4 separate regions of the Homo sapiens genome follow, and all the other regions are linked to region 1. The links are contacts of gene promoters, found by promoter capture Hi-C in blood cells and fetal thymus (Javierre and others, 2016). All regions are on one chromosome and are shown on one strand. Each heading gives the region's core, a stretch centred on a gene start or on the middle of the fragment in contact. The rest is flanking DNA. Distances are from core to core; before and after follow the strand shown. Region 1 holds the start of RD3L (RD3 like). Region 2 overlaps PPP1R13B (protein phosphatase 1 regulatory subunit 13B). Region 3 overlaps PPP1R13B (protein phosphatase 1 regulatory subunit 13B). Region 4 overlaps PPP1R13B (protein phosphatase 1 regulatory subunit 13B).

The links. Contacts are between HindIII fragments. The CHiCAGO score rates a contact against its expected background, and 5 or more counts as called.
Region 2: a contact is called between a fragment that was not itself captured here and the fragment with the promoter of RD3L in region 1, in 1 of 17 cell types (M2 macrophages). The highest score is 5.2, in M2 macrophages.
Region 3: a fragment that was not itself captured here is called in contact with the fragment with the promoter of RD3L in region 1 in 1 of 17 cell types (M2 macrophages); the score reaches 5.3 in M2 macrophages.
Region 4: a contact is called between a fragment that was not itself captured here and the fragment with the promoter of RD3L in region 1, in 4 of 17 cell types (M2 macrophages, M1 macrophages, M0 macrophages and 1 more). The highest score is 14.7, in M2 macrophages.

The regions. Positions count from the first base shown.
Region 1 is chr14:103,939,232-103,944,657 of GRCh38, forward strand. RD3L (RD3 like) reads right to left here and starts at 3,298. Exons shown (of 3, transcript NM_001257268.2): 1 at 2,861-3,298; 2 at 2,166-2,471; 3 at 1,195-1,872. The coding sequence starts at 2,464. The coding sequence ends at 1,575. The region is part of intron 1 of TDRD9 (tudor domain containing 9); the gene reads left to right. The HindIII fragment of the contact is 3,550 bases long and covers 2,854-5,426 here.
Region 2 is chr14:103,771,440-103,776,865 of GRCh38, forward strand. All of the region lies in intron 4 of PPP1R13B (protein phosphatase 1 regulatory subunit 13B), which reads right to left. Among named protein-coding and RNA genes, the nearest start is that of ZFYVE21, 58 kb to the left of the region's middle. The HindIII fragment of the contact is 398 bases long and covers 3,011-3,408 here.
Region 3 is chr14:103,792,043-103,797,468 of GRCh38, forward strand. It overlaps PPP1R13B (protein phosphatase 1 regulatory subunit 13B), which reads right to left. Exons shown (of 17, transcript NM_015316.3): 2 at 5,329-5,426. It overlaps LOC124900347 (small nucleolar RNA SNORD51), which reads right to left and starts at 5,306; the gene lies at 5,230-5,306. RefSeq lists enhancers at 2,606-3,107, 3,108-3,607. The HindIII fragment of the contact is 4,803 bases long and covers 460-5,262 here.
Region 4 is chr14:103,809,201-103,814,626 of GRCh38, forward strand. All of the region lies in intron 1 of PPP1R13B (protein phosphatase 1 regulatory subunit 13B), which reads right to left. Among named protein-coding and RNA genes, the nearest start is that of PPP1R13B, 36 kb to the right of the region's middle. The HindIII fragment of the contact is 5,870 bases long and covers 1-5,251 here.

The DNA of each region.
Region 1 (5,426 bases), core at 2,048-4,547:
TTCCTGGTATGTATGGTGGGATGACCAATTCTAGTACCGGGCTTCATATACAAACTTCACGTTCTCCTTGTTTCTTTAAATGAAAATTTTGTTCTCACCATTAAGGCACTGATATTTTCTTAAAACTCACGTTTGCTACTTACTGTATTCACTGCACAATAAGCAGTTGTGTACTTTTCGGGGCATTTATCTCTCCCACACACAGTTTCCACTCTAGGAAATCTTACAGTGACTGAAGAAGCCAAAGGTAGTATGTAGGAAAACTGAAAATCTCAGAGCAGGAATGAGAGGTGTCTTTATTTTAAATCTGCTTGGGACTGTGTTTGTCCTGTTAAACCCTGATCAGGTGGGTTGCATTACGTGATTGGGATTTAAGACCAAATAGAGGTCAGTTGAAAATGGTACACAAGTTGGCCAAGAACGCAGGGAGAATAAAGTTAGGAGGGTTTTTTTTTTTTTTTTTTTTTTTTTTTGTGGTGTATATTTAGTTCTAGTCTTTTTGAAAAAAAGTGTTTTTTTTTTTTTTTTTTTTTGAGACAAGGTCTTTCTCTGTTGCCCAGATTGGAGTGCAGTGGTGTGATCATAGCTCACTGCAGCCTTTAACTCCTGGGCTCCAGTGAGCTTCCTGCTTCAACCTCCTGAGTAGCTGGGACTACAGGTATGTGCCACCACACCCAGCTAGTTCCAATTTTGATACGTATATTTTTTTCTTTTTAGATGAAAGAAAACCAGTAAATCTTCAAATATAAAGTTATAATTAGGTTCCTTGGACTTAACTTTAAGAATGAATTGTATCACTTTATAAAAAAAATCTGACTAATGTATAATTTCCTACTTTTAATAAAGTTATGAAAAGCCAGATTTTGTATATTAAATATTTTGCTATTTCACCAGAGTATAAGTTTAAATTATTCACCAACAGTGAATGTTTTTCTTTGAGAGTAGCAGCTACTCATGTTGCTAAATCAGTCTATTTATCTTTACTGATAGAGCTGAGTTTTATTACACGTTCCCTTAATGTTGAGCTTAAAAGTACTGTGATTAAAACCAAAGCTGAGCGTTGGGTTAAAGCCCTGCTTCATTTTTAAACTGCATGATATTTTTTCCCTCACCGCCCTTCTCCCCATCCCCTGCTGAGAATGATCGTATAATGGGATGTTGACTTCTCATTTCTGTTATGTTGTAAAGATAGGATTCGTATTAATAATTTATTTAATTCTATATGTAGCTTCATTGTAGAATAAAAGTCAAGGTTAATATCTAAGTTTTGTACAGAATTTGTCAGACTTCATACTAAAGTTGCTTTAGTTCCTGTGAGGTGGGTTTGAGGTATAAGAAAATACTGCAAACATTTTTTCAAAATACTTAGGAAACATTTTAGTTAAAAGCATACTATTCAATGAAAACATAGCATGTTTAGAGTGGTTAAAAAAAGAACACTATTTAAAACATAGGCTACATCCACAGGATACTGACCTTGTAACAAAGAAAAACTTGAAGTCACATCACTTTTTCTTATTCTTAATATTAGGAGTTCTAAGGTGTTCATAAAAACCCCTCTAGTTGTAAGTAACTTAACTAGATGGGTGATAATATGGTAGGTTCCATATTCTGTGTGAGAACACTGGGAACCTGTCCTTTGTGTTTTTGTCTACGTAACTGGAAATGGTGGGTATTTCATCTTTGTCTGCCCTCTTGGAGCTGTCACCTTGGATCACAGAAGGAGCAGAGCAGTCCATGCTCCCTGAGTCCTCCAGGTCCTCTTGCTCACTCCCTCTGTCAGAGCTGCTTAGGAAGTCTTTCAGAACTTGCTTGAAGATGTAGACTATTTCCCATGGCAGTACATCATTTTCTGCCAAAACTTCTCGAAATCTAGAGGGGAAATGGTAATGAATATTCAGTTTAGAACATTTTTTGTTATATCTCTTTATCTCCAAAATACAGCTTGAATAATGTATACAAGTTACCCACCTTTTGAGTATTTTGCATGTTGTTTTAAAATTATGCTTCTAGTAAAGAAATTTTAAATGTAATTTAAAACAATTGCTCACCAGACATCTACACAGTTAAAGAATTTACATGATAGAATACAGTTTCTAGTCAAAATATATGAGGAACTTGGACTTAGCAGTAGCAGGAATCATAAGAGAACATAGTATTTTTACCTGCTGAGAATAGTTCCAGTTTGGCAAGGTTGAACTTGTGAGCAAAGAACTTCAAGTTGTCTTTGTTCAGTCACTGGGATAGTTGTGTGGGGATTCTGGTAGTTTCTGAGCCAGTTGTAATCCACACCTGTTTTTTTCACTTTTTGTTCATTTTCGATTTCTTGTATTAATCTCTCTCGCTCCTTTAGGTGCCATTTTAATTCCCGAAGCAGAGTCTTTGTCACTATGTCTGAGCCAGGATAGTGTGTGGGTTTGTAGGAATCGTTTTTGGGCCATTTCATCCAGCCAAAAAGTGGCATTTTTAGCCTATGGAAATATTTTCACTTGTTTATTTGCTCAAAATGTTATGTTCTTCTGAGCAAATATTTGTTTCTTTACAATAAATTTGCCCGAAAAGTGCACGATTTTTTTTCACATTTAGCTATGCAGGTCAAAATAAGATTAGAACATGGATTAACGTCTTAATTTTTAACTAGGTCAGTGGCAGAAACCAAGCTTTGAAAATGCTTTTATGTAGCTTAGCAGAAATTAGATATACAAAGTCAGAGATAACATATAGACTGAATGATATCCGAAAATAACACTAACACTTGCTGTGAAAAGTTCTTAAGAGACTTAAAATATTAATGTCGGGGCAAGTGCTGCCTACAGATACTTTTGATTTATGTTTTGGACAGAAAAGGTTTAAAGCTTACCTGTTAAGTTGATGGGCTGATGTGATGTTGCCAAAGAGTTGACTGAAGTTGGTGACGAAGCTGTGTTTCACTGGGACGTATCTTGCTCTCCTAGGTGTGTCCTCTGTAGAAGGAATGCGCCACCTTATTTACCCACCGAAACTGTATTTGAAATAAATAACTTTCTGTGTTAGGAATGAGGCTGTGATGTCTTCATTTGGAGAGAATGCTCATTAATTCACCTTGTAAGTAAGCTAGAAGAAATGACAAAAATAACTGACTATTTAATCTTCACAAGTTATATAATGGTCTGCCTTTTCAATGTAGCTCAGTCTATTTGAAAAAAATGCCAGCAGCTATAGATGCTGGTCCTAAATGCATTCCGACATGTCTTTGGTAGTGAAACGAAGAATGGTCGTCTAAAGCACCATAGATGCGCTCCGAGCTAGAGTGAAGACTGTCGCGTGATGTGATGCTTTGCTGTGCATAGCTGTAGGTCACAGTTTAGTGCTGTATTTTTATGCCTGTAGAGCTCTAAAAATAGCCACGTTGCTTTTATTCTTCAGCTTAACTTTCAGGCCATTTGGAAGCCGGGTCACTGTCCCCTCTAGTGAAAACAGGAAAAATAGATTAGACTTGACTATTTGCAAAACATACATTCTGAGAAAACTCATTGTAATTGAGTGAAATAGGTAAAGAATGCTGATGTGAATTATAATTGTGAAATATTTAGCAAATGTTACATTTTGTATTCATTTTGGTTTTTTCAAAATAGTTAAATTTGTATATTTAAGCAAGTTGAAATGCTAGGGGACATAATAAACAGCTAGATAACTTTAAAATATACTTTATAATCTCTGAAAATATGGTAATAAGGCAGTAATTGGTTGTCAGGGAAAAATAGAGGCATAAGAACATACAAAATTCTAAACAAAATCTTATAATTCATCGTAGAAAAATCATTTTCGTGTTTTTTTTTTGGAGCTGAGGATGAAAAACTTATATTTACTATTTAGGTGCATATTGGTTTGTAATGGTCATTATTGTGCTATTTCTTTTTTCTTTCTTTCTTTTTTTTGAGACAGAGTCACGTTGTGTCACCCAGGCTGTAGTGCAGTGGCATGATCACGGCTCACTGTAGCCTCGACCTCCTGGGCTCAAGTGATCCTCCCACCTCAGCCCCCTGAATAGCCAGGACCATAGGTGCATGCCACCACAGGTGCATGCTACGGCATGCCTGGCTAGTTTAAAAAAATATATACACACGCACATATGTACATACATATATGTTTTATATATGTACATATGTGTATGTATTTTATATATGTACATATATGTATATATACACATAAGTATATATACGCATATGTATATGTATTATATATGTATATATAAATATACACACATATATAATACACACATATATACACACACACATACATTTCTTTTTTTTTTTTTTTTGTAGAAATAAGGTCTCCCTGTGTTGCCCAGGCTGGTCCGTAAACTGGGCTCAAGTAATCCACCTGCCTCAGCCTCCCAAAGTGCTGGGATTACAGGCATGAGCCACTGCGCTGGCCTGTGCTAATTTCCTATGCAAGTGTTTGTCTTTTGCTAAAGAGTAGATAGTATAAAAGGTCTTTTACTCCCCAGTTCTCTGTGAAACGACTGCATAGTGGTTTTCCCTTTTATAGTATTTGTTTCTTCTGTTGCTTTTCCTTTCAAGTGAGCCATGAAGAGTAGACGTTGTTTACATCAGACTTGCATGTCATGCATGACCCAGAGTGACGTGTGTGGCCACCCTACAGCTCCTGTTGCTTAGATGTTAGAAAAAGCCAGATGTCAGGACTGATTATTGTCAACTGGAAGGTTTTCACATGACATTGCATATACTGTTAGGAGAAGGAAAGGAGTAAAGTTTATGATGACAGAAGTGTCCTACCAAATTTTATACTAAAATTACAGCGAATCTTGCCGCATACTCCTTTGAATAACCTCCTTGTTACTGCATAAATTTTTTTCCTCTGAAATGGTAACAAAAATATCAGAACATATTGGATATGGAACTTAAGCCAAATTTCTGTTCAAGGCCCTCTGCAGTCTCACATTATCCCTCCTTCAAGGCCCTCTACAGTCTTACGTTATCCCTCCTTACCTGGCTTGCTTTCTTGCTCGACCCTAGAGCACACCTTTTGTTTCAGCCAGGCCACGTTGCCCCCTGACGCTTGCCATGCTTACTTCTGATCCTTCAGCTTTGGTTCAACTGTTTTTTCTCTTCTGAAAAGCTGCTTCTTTGTGTTTTTCATGTATCCACATAGTAATTCTCTTTTTCATGGACCAGCTCAAATACCAACTGATTTTTTCCTTCAACCTGAGGGTCAATGTGAACATCTTCCTTGGCCCTTCTTTTCCTTTGAACTCTGATTTTATTTATCTTCACTGTTAAACTTATAGAAAGACTGGTTTGGTCTGTGTTTCTGTTCTCTCTCCACCCCGCCCCCCACCCTTTTTTTTTTGAGATGGAGTCTTGCTCTGTCGCCCAGGCTGGAGTGCAGTGGCGTGATCTTGGCTCACTGCAACCTCTGCCTCC
Region 2 (5,426 bases), core at 1,960-4,459, 170 kb before region 1:
AAAGAGCAACTAAGAAGATTTAAGAACTAACACTTCTTTTTTTTTTTTTTTTTTTTTTGAGATGAAGTCTCCCTCTTGTCCCCCAGGCTGGAGTGCGATGGCGTGATCTCAGCTCACTGCAACCTCCGCCCCCTGGGTTCAAGCGATTCTCCTGCCTCATCCCCCTGAGTAGTTGGGATTACAGGCGCCTGCCAGGACGCCAGGCTAATTTTTGTATTTTTAGTAGAGATGGGGTTTCACCATGTTGGCCAGGCTAGTCTAGAACTCCTGACCTCAGGTGACCCACCCACCTTGGCCTCCCAAAGTACTGGGATTACAGGTGTGAGCCACTGTGCCCGGCCTAAAACTTCTAGAAGTGAAAATTTTAATGAATTTTACAACAGCTTTACTGAGGTATAATTCACATATAATAAACTGCATATATCTAAAGTACACAATTTAATGTTTTGACAAATGTATAAACTATGAAATCAGCACAATCAAGAAAATAAATCCATCCTCTCCCCAAATTTCCTTGTGCCCTTTTGTAATCCCTTCCTCCTATCTCTTTGCCCCCCACTCCTGGTTCTCATATCCACAGGCAAACACTGACCTTCCCTGTTACTAGAGATTATGTTTTCTAGAATTGTATATGAATGAAACCATAACAGTATTCAGTATGTAATCCTTTGGCTGGCTTCTTTCAGCACAATGATTTTGAGATTCATCCATGTTGTAGCATGTATTAGTAGTTCATTTCTTCTGATTGTTCAGGAATATTCCACTGTGAGGATATACCATAGTCTATTTGTGCATTTATCTGTTAACGAACATTTGGGTTGTTGCCAGATTTTGGCTTCAAGCCAAATCAAACTGCTATGGACAGCCATGTACAAGTCTGCACAGACATTTGCTTCCATTTCTCTAAGGTAAATATTTAAGAGTAGAGTTGTTGGGTCATACAGTAGATTTATGTTTAAGTTTCAAACTACCAAATTATTTTCCAGATTATACCATTTTACATTCCCACAAGCAATACATAAGAGTTCCAATTTCTCCCTTTCCTCACCAACACTTGTTATGATCAGTCTTTTTAACATTAGACATTCTAATAGGTGTGTAATGCCACTTCATGGTGGTTTTAATTTGTATTTTCCTAAAGACTAATGATGGTGAACACCTTTCCATGTGCTTACTTGACATTCATATATTTTATTTGGGGAAGCACCTGTTCAATCTTTCACCTGTTTCTTTTTCTTTTTTTTTTTTTTTGAGACAGAGTCTTACTCTGTTGCCCAGGCTAGAGTGCAGTGGCGCGATCTCAGCTCACTGCAACCTCCACCTCCCAAGTTCAAGTGATTCTCCTGCCTCCCAAGTAGTTGGGATTACAGGCGTGCACAACCATGCTGGGCTAATTTTTGTATTTTTAGTAGAGACAGGGTTTCGCCATGTTGGCCAGGCTGGTCTCGAACTCCTGACTTCAAGTGATCCACCCGCCTCAGCCTCCCAAAGTGCTGGGATTACAGGCATGAGCCATTGAGCTCGGCCTATTTCTTTTTTGAATTGGGTTGTTTGTTTTCTTATTATTAAGCTTTGGGAGTTCTTTATATATTCTGCATCTGAATCCTTTATCAGGTACATGATTTGCTAGTATTTTTCCTAGACTATGTCATACCTTTCAAAATAATAATAATAAAAGCACCTTTTATGTATTAAATAGACAGACACAGCTGAAGACAAAATTCACTAACTGAAAGATGAATCTTAGGACAGTATCCAGAATATAGTACAAAGAGACCAAAAAAGAGAATATATAAAAAAGAAATTAAGAGACAAGGAGAATAAAATGAAAGATGAAGGTCTAATAAGAGTTCCAAAAGAAGAAAACAGAAAGAATGCAGAAGATAAAATACTTCTCGAGATAACAGAGAATGTTCCAGAGCTGTTGACAGATGCCAATCCTCAGAATCAGTAAATTCAACAAAGCCCAATAGGGAAATTAAAAGAAATTCACACCTGGCTCTGCTCACAAGGGAGGATTAATCCCAATTTCATTAAATCCCAAAACTCCACTAATTGACAGTAAAGGGATTTTTACATCAAATAATATAAAACCACAAAAGCGGGACTAACAGCAGTGCACACAACACAGATGTTTGGAAGTTGGCAAAAGAACAGACGAGAAATAACTGACCTAGTACATCTGAGACAAACCTCAAGCCAGAAGGAGTAAAACTGGATAAACACTCCAGTTACAGCACAGAATCTTCAAAGTTTCAGGAACTGACAACACCATGTACCTCTGGAAAGGGGAATAAAATGTAGGGACTGAAAATAAGGCAGACTGAGTGAACAATATTTAAGAGGCAGTTAAATCCCTATCTACTCCCCAACTCCATGCTCCTAGGTGACTGCCTCTATCCTCTCCTGGCATAAGTCTAAAAGTTTTTCTCTAGACAGTTGAAATGTTATCTGGCCTAGGAGATGATAGGCACAGTTGAGTCTTGGGCACCATATGGAAAACGGTGCCTGGGTGATTACATTAGCAATGAATGCTTCTGGAAATAAACATCACATTTATGGTCAATTGATCTGACAAAGGTGTCAGGCAATTCAGTGGGAGAGAGAATAGTCTTTTCACCAAATGGTGCTGGGATAACTGGATATTTACATGGAAAAGAATTAATTTGAATCCTTTAACTCACACTATACACAAAAATTAACTTAAAATTGATCATAGAACTACATGTAAGAGCTAAAACTATAAAGCTCTTAGAAGAAAACACAGGAGGGTAGGATCAATTGGTCTTGGCAACTTACTGGATATCCTAGAATAAAGCAAAAACTGACTCAGATTTTAAAACTGCTTGGCTGAGAAGACAGGAAAAAGTTCTTCCAGGACACCTAAGTCGAATGTGTCTTTCCTCTTTGCTGATCTGGCTCTGAATCCTTTCACTGTAGCAACTCAAGAGAACTCTATGCTTAGTCCTGAGTGGTCCTAGCAAACCACGGAACCTGGGGACATCTTGGAAGCTTCAACACAGGCATATATAATGAGAACAAATCAATTTGCCTTTATAGCATAATGACAAACCAGCACAGTAGTATTAACCTGACTTGCTGGCCTACAATTTTCAGAGAGCAGAACTTCCCCGGCTTCTTAGTTCAGCAGCTGCTGATGGACATCAATCACACCAACTCAGCATCCTGCCCTTCTCTTCCAACCCACACTCCCCCCTTTCTTCACAGCTCTCCTTAATCTATCCTTAGATGTCTCAGCCCAGAAGTTAGAAGGCTTATTAGCATGTCATTATTCTATAACCAAGGTATACACAGAAACATTTTGGGGGAAGATGTTTTTCATATCTTAAAATGCACGTAAAACCGCTCTGTAGACAATAAAGTGTTTTAGAAGGTAACGTATTATTAAGCTTAAAAGGTAGATGTGTAAGCCATAAAATACAGTAACATCTTTGATGTGATGCTTCCAATCCTAAATTATTCCTCTAGAGGAGCTCTCATACCTTCCTCTAATTACAAGCCACATAAAGGATAAAAACACATTTTTCACTTTGGTTTCAGGTTTCAATTTTGTTGATCTTGAAATATACACATTATCTCCTTATTAACAAGAAAAAACTTCATCAAGGAAAAGGTCTCATCACATCAAAACTGGTCTACCCAATTTATCATACATTTGGAATGCTTTCCTTTTGAGTCTCTTCCATATATTATATCATATACAACACACCTCACTTCTTCAACACACGGCCTACTCAATGTATCTATTTAATCTTCCCTGAAGTTCAGGTCATGGTAATTCTTTCTTCCTTTCTTTCTTTCACTTATTATTATTATTATTTTTTTTTTTTTGGAGACAGAGTCTCGCTCTGTCACCCAGGCTGGAGCGCAGTGGTGCAATCTCAGCTCACTGCAACCTCTGTCTCCTGGGTTCAGGCGATTCTCCTGCCTCAGCCTCCAGAACAGCTGGGATTACAGGCACCTGCCATCATGCCCAGCTAATTTTTGTATCTTTAGTAGAGAGAGGGTTTCACCATGTTGGCCAGATTGGTCTAGAACTCCTGACCTCAGGTGATCCGCCTACCTTGGCCTCCCAAAGTGCTGGGATTACAGGAGCTAGCCACCGCGCCCGTCCCATGGTAAATCTTAGAACTCAAAAAGATCTTCAACATTCTGTTGGACAAACAAGCTATAAATGCTTGCTAAAGTGTAACCTGGATGTTCCCAAGCTTGGCATGGCAACATAGTCACATGGGGAGTTTTCTAGGCCCCACTCCAGATTTACTGAATGAAAATTTCTACCAGTGGTGTGTGTGCGTCTATTTCTTAAGACGTCCTGAAGCAGATCCGCCTGGAAGAACTCTGTAGAGGCTCTTGATTTGCAGTGGACAAATCTCTACTCCAATGACAGAAGGCAGGAATGTGAAGAGGGAGAATCTATAATCTTAACAACAGGAATATTTCTCCCTGAGTGGCAGAAGGATTATGATATTGAAACCAAAGAGAAGAAAATATAATCTAGTATACCACATGGCTCTGCAGTGGATAATACCTGCAAAATCTAAAATAATGAAACTGCTAAATGGTTTTCAACTTTATAACCAATCTACAGACAAAGCAAAAAAGGTTTATAGTTAGATAACAATATACAAATATTGTCAACCTTTACAACATGAAAGTCTGGTACAGCTGCAAGAGCTGGAAGGAAGGAAGGAAGGGAGGAAGGGAAGGAGGGAGGGAGGGAGGGAGGAAGGAAGGAAGGAAGGAAGGAAGGAAGGAAGGAAGGAAGGAAGGAAGGAAAGATGGCAGGGGCCTAATATTATCATTTTACAAAGAGCAAGGTCCAGAGATACTGTTTAAAGTTGATAGTACAAATAAACAGAGATTTAAGTATATGAGGTAGGGTCACAAATATAGCCAATAAAAGAACTAGCAATTCAATAATAAGTTGGGAAGTAGAGAGGTGAAATAACTTGCTCAAATTCAGCTCATTAGAAAGCTCCGAGGCCAGTGGGCTAAACATGGGCCAGTCACACTCTAGATTCCATGCACTTTACCAGTATCTCACCATGCCCAGCCCTGTGTGAGGAAGGAACTTGCCTAAGCTTAGATGCCTAGTTAGTGTTACAGCCAGAAAAAGAAACTCAATCAGGCTGGGCGCGATGGCTCACGCCTGTAATCCCAGAACTTTGGGAGGCCAAGGTGGGCGGATCACAAGGTCAGGAGATTGAGACCATCTTGGCTAACACGGTGAAACCCCATCTCTATTAAAAATACAAAAAATTAGCCGGGCGTGGCGGTGTGCGCCTGTAGTCCCAGCTGCTGGGGAGGCTGAGGCAGGAGAATGGCTTGAATCCGGGAGGCGGAGCTTGCAGTGAGCCCAGATCAGGCCACTGCACTCCAGCCTGGGCGACAGAGTGAGACTC
Region 3 (5,426 bases), core at 1,611-4,110, 150 kb before region 1:
TTTATTAAAATCAATTTACAACCTATATTTAAATATACCAAGTCTGAACATAACCTAATAAAAATTAAAACCCATTTTGTCTTAAGCCAGTTATTTAACAGAAATTTATTGTTTCCCTCTATTCATCGTGTGTGTGTGTGTGTGTGTGTGTGTGTGTGTATATTTTTTTAAAGACAGGGTCGCACTCTGTCCTCTGTCACCCAGGCTGGAGCACTGAAGTGCAGTGGTGTGATCAAGCGATCGTCCCACCTCAACCTCTCTAGTAGCTGGGACTACAGGCATGTGCCACCACGCCCAGCTAATTTTTGTATTTTTTGTAGAGATGGGGTTTGGCCACATTGCCAAGGTTGGTCTCGAAGTTCTGGGCTCAAGCAATCTGCCAGCCTTGGCCTCAAGTGCTGGGATTACAGGTGTGAGCTACTGCACCTGGCAAAATTTTGAGAAGATTAATTTCAAGAAAGCTTCGCTATATTTTTTTAAGGAAGTTTAACTGAACATAATTTTCGTTTTAAAGTAGAAAAAACACAACCCGATCAACATGACAAGACCCTGTCTCTACAAAAAATAAATAAATAAAAGGATTGTCTGGGCACTGTGCAGTTTGCCTGTGCTCCCAGCTACTTGTGAGGCTGAGATGGAAGGATCCCTTGAGCCCAGGAGTTTAAGGCTGCAGTGAGCTATGATCATACCACTTCACTCCAACCTGGGCAACTGAGCAAGACTCTGTCTCAAAAAAAAGAAAAAGAGGCTGGGTGCAGTGGCTCATGCCTGTAATCCCAGCACTTTGGGAGGCCGAGGCAGGTGGATCACGAGGTCAGGAGTTCGAGACCAGCCTGGCCAATATGGTGAAACCTCGTCTCTACTAAAAAATGCAAAAAATTAGCCGGGCATGGTGGCGCATGCCTGTAGTCCCAGCTACTCAGGGAGGCTGAGGCAGGAGAATCACTGGAACCTGGGAGGCAGAGGTTGCAGTCAACTGAGAATGCGCCACTGCACTCCAGCTTGGGCGACAGGGCGAGACTCTGTCATAGAAAAGGGGAAGGGAAGGAAGGGGAGGGGAGGGAAGGGGAGGGAAGGCAATGGGAGGGGAGGGGAGGGGAGGGAAAGGAGGGGAAGGGAAGAGAAGGGAGAGAAGGGAAGAAAAGGGAAGAGAAGTGAGGAAAGGAAAGAAAAGGAAAGAAAAGGAAAAAACACTACTGATCTGGTTAGGTTTTATGTCCCCACCCAAATCTCATCTTGAATTGTAATCCCCATAATCCCCACATGTCAAGGGAGAGACCAGATGGAGGTCACTGAATCATGGAGGTGGTTTCTCATGATAGTGAGTGAGTTCTCATGAAAACTGATGGTTTTAGAAGGGGCTCTTCCCCCTTCACTTGACATTTCTCCTTCCTGCCACCTTGTGGAGGAGCTGCCTTGCTTTCCCTTCACCTTCTGTCATGATTGTAAGTTTCCTGAGGCCTCCCCAGCCTTGCAGAACTGTGAGTAAATTAAACCTTTTTCCTTTATAAATCATTCCATCTCTGGCAGTTCTTTATAGCAGTATGAAAATGGACTAACTACCCTATACATATCATGTAATATAAAATATACCTAATTAGCATCTTGTATAATGGAAATCTATTATAAGACTTTTAGGAACTTTAAATAAGGTTAAAAAACCTCAAGTAGGAAACTTAACAAAAGATAAAAATGGAAGGTTTTATCTACCTTACTGACTGCCATTAGAACTGACACCTGTGTGGGGAAGGGAACCACACAGAGTAGCTAATGACCTGGCCAAATTAACAGACTGTTACAGGCTGAACTGTGTCCCCGCTAAATTCATCTGTTGTAGTCCTGACCTCAAGTACCTCGAAATTTAACTGTATTTGGAGACAGGACTTTTAAAGAGGCAAGAAGATAAAATGAAGAGATCAAAGTGGCCCCTAATCCAATATGACTAGTGTCCTTACAAGAGGGGGAGGTTTGTCCACAGACAGGCATGGAGGGAAGAAAAGAAAACCATCTACAAGTCAAAGAGAGAGAGAGTCTTCAGAATAAACCAAGCCTGCTGACACCTTCATCTCAGACTTCTGGCCTCCATCACTGTGAGAAAATAAATTACTGTTGTTTAAGCCACCCAGTCTGTGGCACTTTGTTACGGCAGCCTCAGCAAAATAATGCACAGATCCACAGTGAAACGGCTCTACTGGAAAGCACTGATAATTACTATTGAAGGATTCTATCTACGACATACTGATCATACTAATGTCAGCAGTTATGGGGGCAGTAATTTGTTTTTTGTTTTTTTTTTTTTTTGAGATGAAGTTTCACTCTTGTTGCCCAGGCTGGAGTGCAGTGGCACAATCTCGGCTCACTGCAACCTCCGCCTCCCAGGTTCAAGCGATTCTCCTGCCTCAGCCTCCCGAGTAGCAGGGATTACAGGTGCCCACCACCATGCCCAGCTAATTTTTTGTTTTTTTAGTAGAGACAGGGTTTCACCATGTTGGCCAGGCTGGTCTCAAACTCCTGACCTCAGGTGATCCACCCACCTCGGCCTCCCAAAGTGTTGAGATTACAAGAGTGAGCCACAGTGCCCGGCCAGGTGCAGTAAGTTTTATGTGAGGGTTCTCTGAAACCTAAAAAAAAAAAAATCTCTGTAAGGGTTCCTCTAGGTAAAAGGACTGAGAAAGGCTGTTACAGTGCTTGCCCTCTCCCTTTGATGGCATCCACTGGAAGTTACCTTCTCTTCTTCCTAGATCCAGCTTCGTTGGCCATTTTACTTACTAATCTGTGTTTACTAAGTGCCTTCTATGAACACTAGGCTGGACACTGGGGATATAATGGTGAACAACAGACAAGTTCCCGCCTTCAGGAATTTTAGTCCAACAAGATAGAGATAAAAACTACTACTACATTATGTTTGTTTGTTTTTTTTTGAGACAGTCTCGCTCTGTCGCCCAGGCTGGAGTGCAGTGGCACACTCTTGGCTCACTGCAACCTCCGCCTCCGGGTTTCAAGGGATTCTCCTGCCTCCCAAGAAGCTGGGACTATAGGCGTGTGCCACCATGCCTGGCTAATTTTTGTATTTTTAGTAGAGATGGGGTTTTGACGTGCTGGCCAGGCTGGTCTCCAACTCCTGGCTTCAAGTGATCCACCCGCCTTGGCCTCCTAAAGGGCTGGGATTAGAGGCAAGAGCCACCGTGCCCGACCTGTATCATGTTTTGATAAATACAACGACAGTATTAGAGCACAGGGACACTAACACCCTTTGAGATTCACGGAAGGGATGAGAGGCAAAGAATAAATAGATGTTAGCCAAGCTCCTAGGGATTGTTCTAGACAACGAAGGAGCATGTACAAAAGCCACGGTAAATGTACTGTGCTGTGACTCTGTGCTCCAGGGTGGTAGTCCTCATCCTTGAGGAGGTAAAACTAAGTTATGATTTGAGATGGGCTGGGAGACAAGGATGGCACCAACCGAGTGACTCGTATGAGAGAGACAAGCATTCTCAAGAGGCCATAGACCATTTAGGGCTATAATACTCGTGTAAAAATTTTATTCCCTTACAATGGGAAGGCAGATGAGGAATTAGAATTGATAACAAGTAACAGAGAACAAAAGTGCTAAGAGGCTAGAGAAGAAAAAAAACAAGGGAATGAATGATCAGGCTCTAACACTGCTCCCCTTAAAAACGTTAATTACAATTACTTAACTGCCTGCTTCCTGTAGCTGTCATTAGGCTAACAATTGAGGGCCTGTCCTTTTACTTCTAATTTAGTAATAGTCCAATGTTTATCAAAGTCAAGTTTCTCTCCATGTATCCTTAAAATTCTTTACTCTGAATTCTAAGTAAAAAGCACAAGACCTTGCAAAAAAATTGTAATTTATATACCCACAAGGGACTTGTATCTAGAATACATAAAGAACTTTTACAATTCAGTAACAAAAAGACAAATAACCCATTTTTAAAATGGGCAATGGGGTGGGGTGCAGTGGTTCACACCTGTAATCCCAGCACTTTGGGAGGCCCAGGCAGGTGGATCACTTGAGCCCAGGAGTTTGAGACCACCCTGGGCAACATGGCAAAACCCTGTTTCTACAAAAATTAGCCGGGCATGGTGGTGCATGCCTGTAGTCCCAGCTACACGAGAGGCTGAGGTGGGAGCACTGCTTGAGCCCAGAAGATAGAGGTTGCAGTGAGCCAGGATTGTGCCACTGTTCTCCAGCCTGGGCAACAGAGAAAGACACTGTCTCAAAAATAAATAAATAAATAAATAGGCAAAGGAACTGAATAGACATTTCTCCAGAGAAGATATAAAAATGGCCAATATACACATGAAAAGATTTTCACCATCATTAGTCATTAGGGAAATGCAAATCACAATCACAATAAGACATATCTTCACAACTACTAGGATGGCTAAACTCAAGCAGACAGTATCAAGTGTTGATGAGAATGTGCAGAAATTCTCCACATCGTATACTTCGTATACTGCTGCAGGGAATGTAAAATGAAGCAATTGCATTAGAAAACAGTCTGGTGGTTCTTGAAAAGGTTAAACACGAATTACCATATGACCCAGAGATTCCTAGGTTTATACTACTAAGAGATATGAAAATATATGTCCACACAAAAACTTGTACATTGTCAGGTGCGGTGGCTCATGCCTGTAATCCAAGCACTTTGGGAGGCCATGGTGGGTGGATTGCCTGAGCTCAGGAGTTCAAGACCAGCCTGGGCAACATGGTGAAACCCCGATTCTACTAAAAATACAAAAAATTAGCCAGGCGTGGTGGTGCGCGCCTATAGCCCCAGCTACTGGGAGGCGGAGGCACAAGAATCGTTTGAACCCAGGAGGCGGAGGTTGCAGTGAACCAAGAGCATGCCACTGCACTCCAGCCTGTGGGAGAGACCAAGACTCCATGTCAGAAAACAAAAAACAAAAACAAAAACAGTTTGTACATGAAAGTTCATAGGAGCATTATTCATAATAGCCAAAAAAAAAAAAAAGAGAGACAGCCCAAACATCTATCACTCTGGCCTGGGAGACAGAGTGAGATACTGTCTCAAAAAAAAAAAAAAAAGTATACAAAAAAGCATTTTGTAAAACTCAGTCCTGTGCAATATAATTACATTTATTTTAATTACTCAGTTCTTTATTACCACAGATAACTAAGAACTACAAGCAATATTTTCCATTTGATAAATACTAAATTATATGTACTTAGTTACTTTTTTTCCCCATCTTTATCAGAAAAAAAGCAAATCCAGCACAAGCTTAGCTAAAAGATGGTGATTTGATTTTATCAATGTAACAATCTTTACAGGACCTAATACATACCATTTCCCCTCCACACTTCAGCTAAATGGCAGCTGCCTTCTCCAGGTTCCTTGCAAAATTCTACAACATCTCGACAGGTTGTTTCCGGTGTTATAGGA
Region 4 (5,426 bases), core at 1,067-3,566, 130 kb before region 1:
GCCACTACAATAGATCTCAATAACCTTATCAATTCTGTTGAGTTCTAATCACTGTTTTACTTGCGTTAATAATTTCACATTTTAAATTACATTATACAGTATTCCTGGGAATACAAAATAGACACCTTAGCTTCTATTTGCATTATTTACTTAGTATATAGTCCCTTCAGTATTTAAAAGCATAACGCATTTTGAGAGAACCTATCTTAAACCTTGTAGAAATGTGAAATTCATACAGCTTTCCATAATACCAAGATGTGTCATGACTACAGGATATAGAGGTGATACAGCTGACCACATTTATTCTATCCACTAAAACTTAAAGAATACTCTAGAATAGGTTGGGTGTGGCGGCTCACACCTGTATGCCAGCACTTTGGGAGGTTGAGGTGGGCAGGCTGCTCGAGCTCAGGAGCTCGAGATCAGCCTGGGCAACATGGCGAAACCCTATCTCTACAAAAAGCACAAAAAATTAGCCAGGCATGGTAGTATATGCCAGTAGTCCCAGACACGTGGGGGGCTGAGGCAGGGAGGATCACTTGAGCCCAGGAGGTCAAGGCTGCAGTGAGCTATGATCAAACCACTGCACTCCAGCCTGGGTGACAAAGTGAAACTCTTGTCTCAAAATTATTATTATTATTTTTGAGACAGAGTCTCGCTCTGTCGCCCAGGCTGGAGTGCAGTGGCACGATCTCGGCTCACTGCAACCTCTGCCTCCCGGGTTCAAGTGATTCTCCTGCCTCAGCCTCCCTAGTAGCTGGGACTAGAGGCATGCGCCACCATGCCTGGCTAATTTTTGTATTTTTAGTAGAGACGGGGTTTCACCATGTTGGCCAGATGGTCTTGATCTCTTGACCTTGTGATCTGCCCGCCTTGGCCTCCCAAAGTGCTGGAATTACAAGTGTGAGCCACCGCGCCCAGCTGTCTCAAAATTTTAAAAAGGCCAGGCGTGGAGGCTCATGCCTTTAATCCCAGCACTTTCGGAGGCTGAGGCAGGTGGATCATGAGGTCTGAAGTTCGAAACCAGCCTGGCCAACATGGTGAAACCCCATCTCTACCAAAAATACAAAAATTAGCCCGACGTGGTGGCACATGCCTATAATCCCGGCTACTCAGGAGGCTGAGACAGGAGAATCGTTTGAACCCAGGAGGCAGAGGTTGCAGTGAGCCAAGTGACAGAGTGAGACTTCCTCTCAAAAATAATAAAAAATTAAAATTAGAAAATAATACTCTAGAATAAAGAACAGTATCAATTCTGACACCACTGTTCATCAATATTGAAAATTACTTTGGCTGGGCGTGGTGGCTCATGCCTGTAATCCCAGCACTTTGGGAGGCCAAGGCAGGCGGATCATGAGGTCAGGAGATTAAGACCATCCTGGCTAACACAGTGAAACTCGTCTCTACTAAAAATACAAAACATTAGCTGGGCGTGGTGGTGGGCGCCTGTAGTCCCAGCTACTCGGGAGGCTGAGGCAGGAGTATGGCGTGACCCGGGAGGTGGCGCTTGCAGTGAGCCGAGATCGCACCACTGCACTCCAGCCTGGATGACAGAGCGAGACTCCATCTCAAAAAAGAAAAAAAAAAATTGAAAGTGACTGCTTGAGGCTAGGTGTGGTGGCTCGTGCTTGTAATCCCAGCACTTTGGGAAGCTGAGCCCGGTGGATCACTTGAGGTCAGGAGTTCAAGACCAGCCTGGGCAACATGGTGAAGCCCCGTCTCTACTAAAAAAAAAAAAAAAATTAGCCGGGCATGGCAGTGCGTGCCTGTAATTCCACCTAACTCAGGAGGCTGAAGCAGGAGAATTGCTTAAACCCGGGAGGCAGAGGTTGCAGTAAGCTGAGATTATGCCACACTGCACTCCAGCCTAGAGGACAGCGTGAGACTCCTCCTCAAAAAAAAAAAAAAAAAAAAAAAAAGACAAAGAAAATTACTGCTTGAAATAATGGTTGCTTTACTAATGTTGATCACGTGAATATTATGGAAGCAGAACAAACACTGAATTTTAAACCACAGACTATGACCTCTTAGTGGGCTCTAAAATCAATTAGTGCCTCAGGACCAGTTTTGTTTTTTAATGAACTAGAACAGAACAATATATAACAGTTATTAAGAGAATGAAAAGACAAGCCACAGACTGGGAGAAAATATCTGCAAAGTACATATTTGATAAAGGACTTGGCCAGGTGTGGTGGTTCACACCTATAATCCCAGCACTTCGGGATGTCTGTAATCCCAGCATTTTGGGAGGCTAAGATGGGTGGATCACTTGAGCCCAAGAGTTCGAGAACAGTCTGAACAACATAGGGAGACCCCATCTCTACAAAAAACACAAAAAGTAGCCAGGTGTAGTAGTGCAGGCCTGTAGTCCCAGCTTCTTGGGAGGCTGAGGTAGGAGGATTGCTTGAGCCCAGAAGGTCGAGGCTGCAGTGAGCTATGACTGTGCCACTGCACTCCAGCCTGGGCACAAGAGTGAGACCGTCACTAAATAAATAAATACATAAAGGACTTGTATCCTAAATACACAAATAACTCTTTTTTCTTTTTTGAGATGGAGTCTCGCTCTGTCACCCAGGCCGGGCGCAGTGGCTCACACCTGTAATCCCAGCACTTTGGGAGGCCAAGGCTGGCAGATCATGAGGTCAGGAGATCAAGATCATCCTGGCTAACATGGTGAAACCCCGTCTCTACTAAAAATACAAAAACAGCATTAGCCGGGTGTGGTGGTGGGCGCCTATAGTCCCAGCTACTTGGGAGGCTGAGGTGGGAGAATGGCGTGAACCTGGGAGGCGGAGCTTGCGGTGAGCTGAGATTGAGCCACTACACTCCACCCTGGGCGACAGAGCCAGACTCCCCCTCAAAAAAAAAAAAAAAAAAAAAACCTCAATAATCATAAAACAAGCTAATGTTTTTGTTTCTGTGTGTGGTTTTTTTTTTTTTTTTTTTCTAGACAGTCTCTGTCACCCAGGCTGGAATGCAGTGGCGCAATCTCAGCTCACTGTGACCTCTGCCTCCTGGGTTCAAGCGATTCTCCCGCCTCAGCCTCCCGAGTAGCTGGGACTACAGGTGCCTGCCCCCACACTCAGCTAATTTTTGTATATTTTTAGTAGAGATGGGGTTTCACCATATTGGCCAGGCTGGTCTCGAACTCCTTACATTGTGATCCGCCCACCTCGGCCTCCCAAAGTGCTGGGATTACAGGCGTGAGCCACCGCGTGTGGCTGTTTCTGTGTTTTTGAGACACAGTTTCACTCTGTCGCCCAGTCTGGAGTGCCGTGGCACAAGCTCAGCTCACTGCAACCTCTGCCTCCTGGGTTCGAGCGATTCTCGTGACTCAGCTTCCTGAGTAGCGGGGATTGGGGTGCCTGCCATCAGGCCCAGCCAATTTTTGTATCATTAGTAGAGATGGTGTTTCACCATGTTGGCCAGGCTGGTCTCGAACTCCTGACCTCAAATGATCCCCCTGCCTCAGCCAAGGTGCTAGGATTACACGCGTGAGCCACCGCACCTGGCCAAAACAACCTAATTTTTAATGGGCAAATGATCTGAACAGATACTTCACCAAAGATGACATACAAATGGAAAAATAAACATATGAAAAACATGTTCCGTATCATAGGTCATTTGGGAATTGCAAATTATTAATAAAACAACAGTGAAATACTACTACACACCTACTAGAATGGCCCAAATCCAAAGCATCGACAACACCTAACACTGGTGAGGATGCGGAGCAAAAGGAACTTGCAGTTGGGAATACAAAATGGTACAGCCATGTTGGAAGACAGTTTGGTGGCTTCTTAAAAAACTAAGCATACTTTTACCATGTGATCCAGCAATCCCACCACTTGGTCTTTACCCAAAGGAGTTGAAAATGTGTCCAGACAAAAACCTGCATGTGAATGTTTATGGCAGCTTTGTTCATAATTGCCAAAACTTGGAAGCAACCAAGATGTCCTTCAGTAGATGAATGGATAAACAAACTGTGGTACATAATACTGCTGGAATATTATTCAGTTATTCAGCAATGTTAAAAAAAAAAAGCACAAATCCAGAAGAGAGTCCCCACTGTACTTTCACGTCCCCACCGTACTTTCTGCTCCATCTTTCTGTATATCTAAAACTTCTATAAAAAATAAGACAGTACACTGCCCATGGAAAGGGTAAGATATGGTTTGGCTGTGCCCCACCCAAAAGCTCATCTTGAATTGTAATACCCATGTGTCAAGGGGAGAACCAGGTGGACATAATTGGATCATGGGGCGGTTTCTCCCATTTTGTTCTCGTGATAATGCGTGAGTCTCACGAGATCTGATGGTTTTATAAGCATCTGGAATTTCCCCTGCTGGCATTCGTTCTCTCTCCTGTCAGCCTGTGAAGAGGTGCCTTCCGCCATGATTGTAAGTTCCTGAGGTCTCCCAGGCACGCAGAACTGTGAGTACATTAAATCTCTTTCCTTTATAAATTACCCAGTCTCCGGTAGTTCTTTATAGCAGGGTAAGAGAAGAGTAACATAGGGTGTTTTCTCCTGACATTTTGACACGTATAGATACGTGTCTGAGTATTTAGGTAAGAACTGAGTCACCTTGTAAAAGGTATTTCTTAGTGTGGGTTCATGGTCAGAAAAGTTTGAAAGATACTACTCTGAGGGCCTCATGAAACCTACCAGGACTTCCATAAAACTAAATGAAAAGTCACTGCACTAGGGAAAAAACATTTCCATTATCATTTATTGGTACTTATTATTACTCATTATAGTATGGACTTTACACATTCTCAATTGTCATACCATCTTTGTGATATAGGTACTACTCTTCACTTTACAGATTAGGAAAAAGAGGGTCAGAGAGGTTAAATAATTTGTCCCAGATGGGCGTGGTGGCTCACACCTGTAATCCAGCACTTTGGGAGGCCAAGGCGGATGGATCACCTGAGGTCTGGAGTTCACGACCAGCCTGGCCAACATGGTGAAACCCCGTCTCTACTAAAAATACAAATATTAGCCGGGCATGGTGGCACATGCCTATAATCCCAGCTACTTGGGAGGCTGAGGCAGGAGAATGCCATGAACCTGGGAGGCCGAGCTTGCAGTGAGCCGAGATTGCCCCACTGCACTCCAGCCTGGGCGACAGAGCAAGACTCCGTCTCAAAATAAATGAATAAATAAATAAATAAAATAATAATTTGTCCCAAGTCTGCTGAACTAATAAATACTAGAGTCAGGATTTAACCCTGGCCTGTGTGACTCCAAAGCTTAAGCTTTAAACCACTACTCTAAAATGCTTCAAAATAAAAAAGATAAGGCAGTAAAAGTTTCAATGGGCTGAGCCCCGTGGCTCACACTTATAATCCCAAGACTTTAGGAGGCTGAGGCAAAAGGATCACTTGAGGGTAGGAGTTAAGAGATGAGCCTAAGCAACTTGACG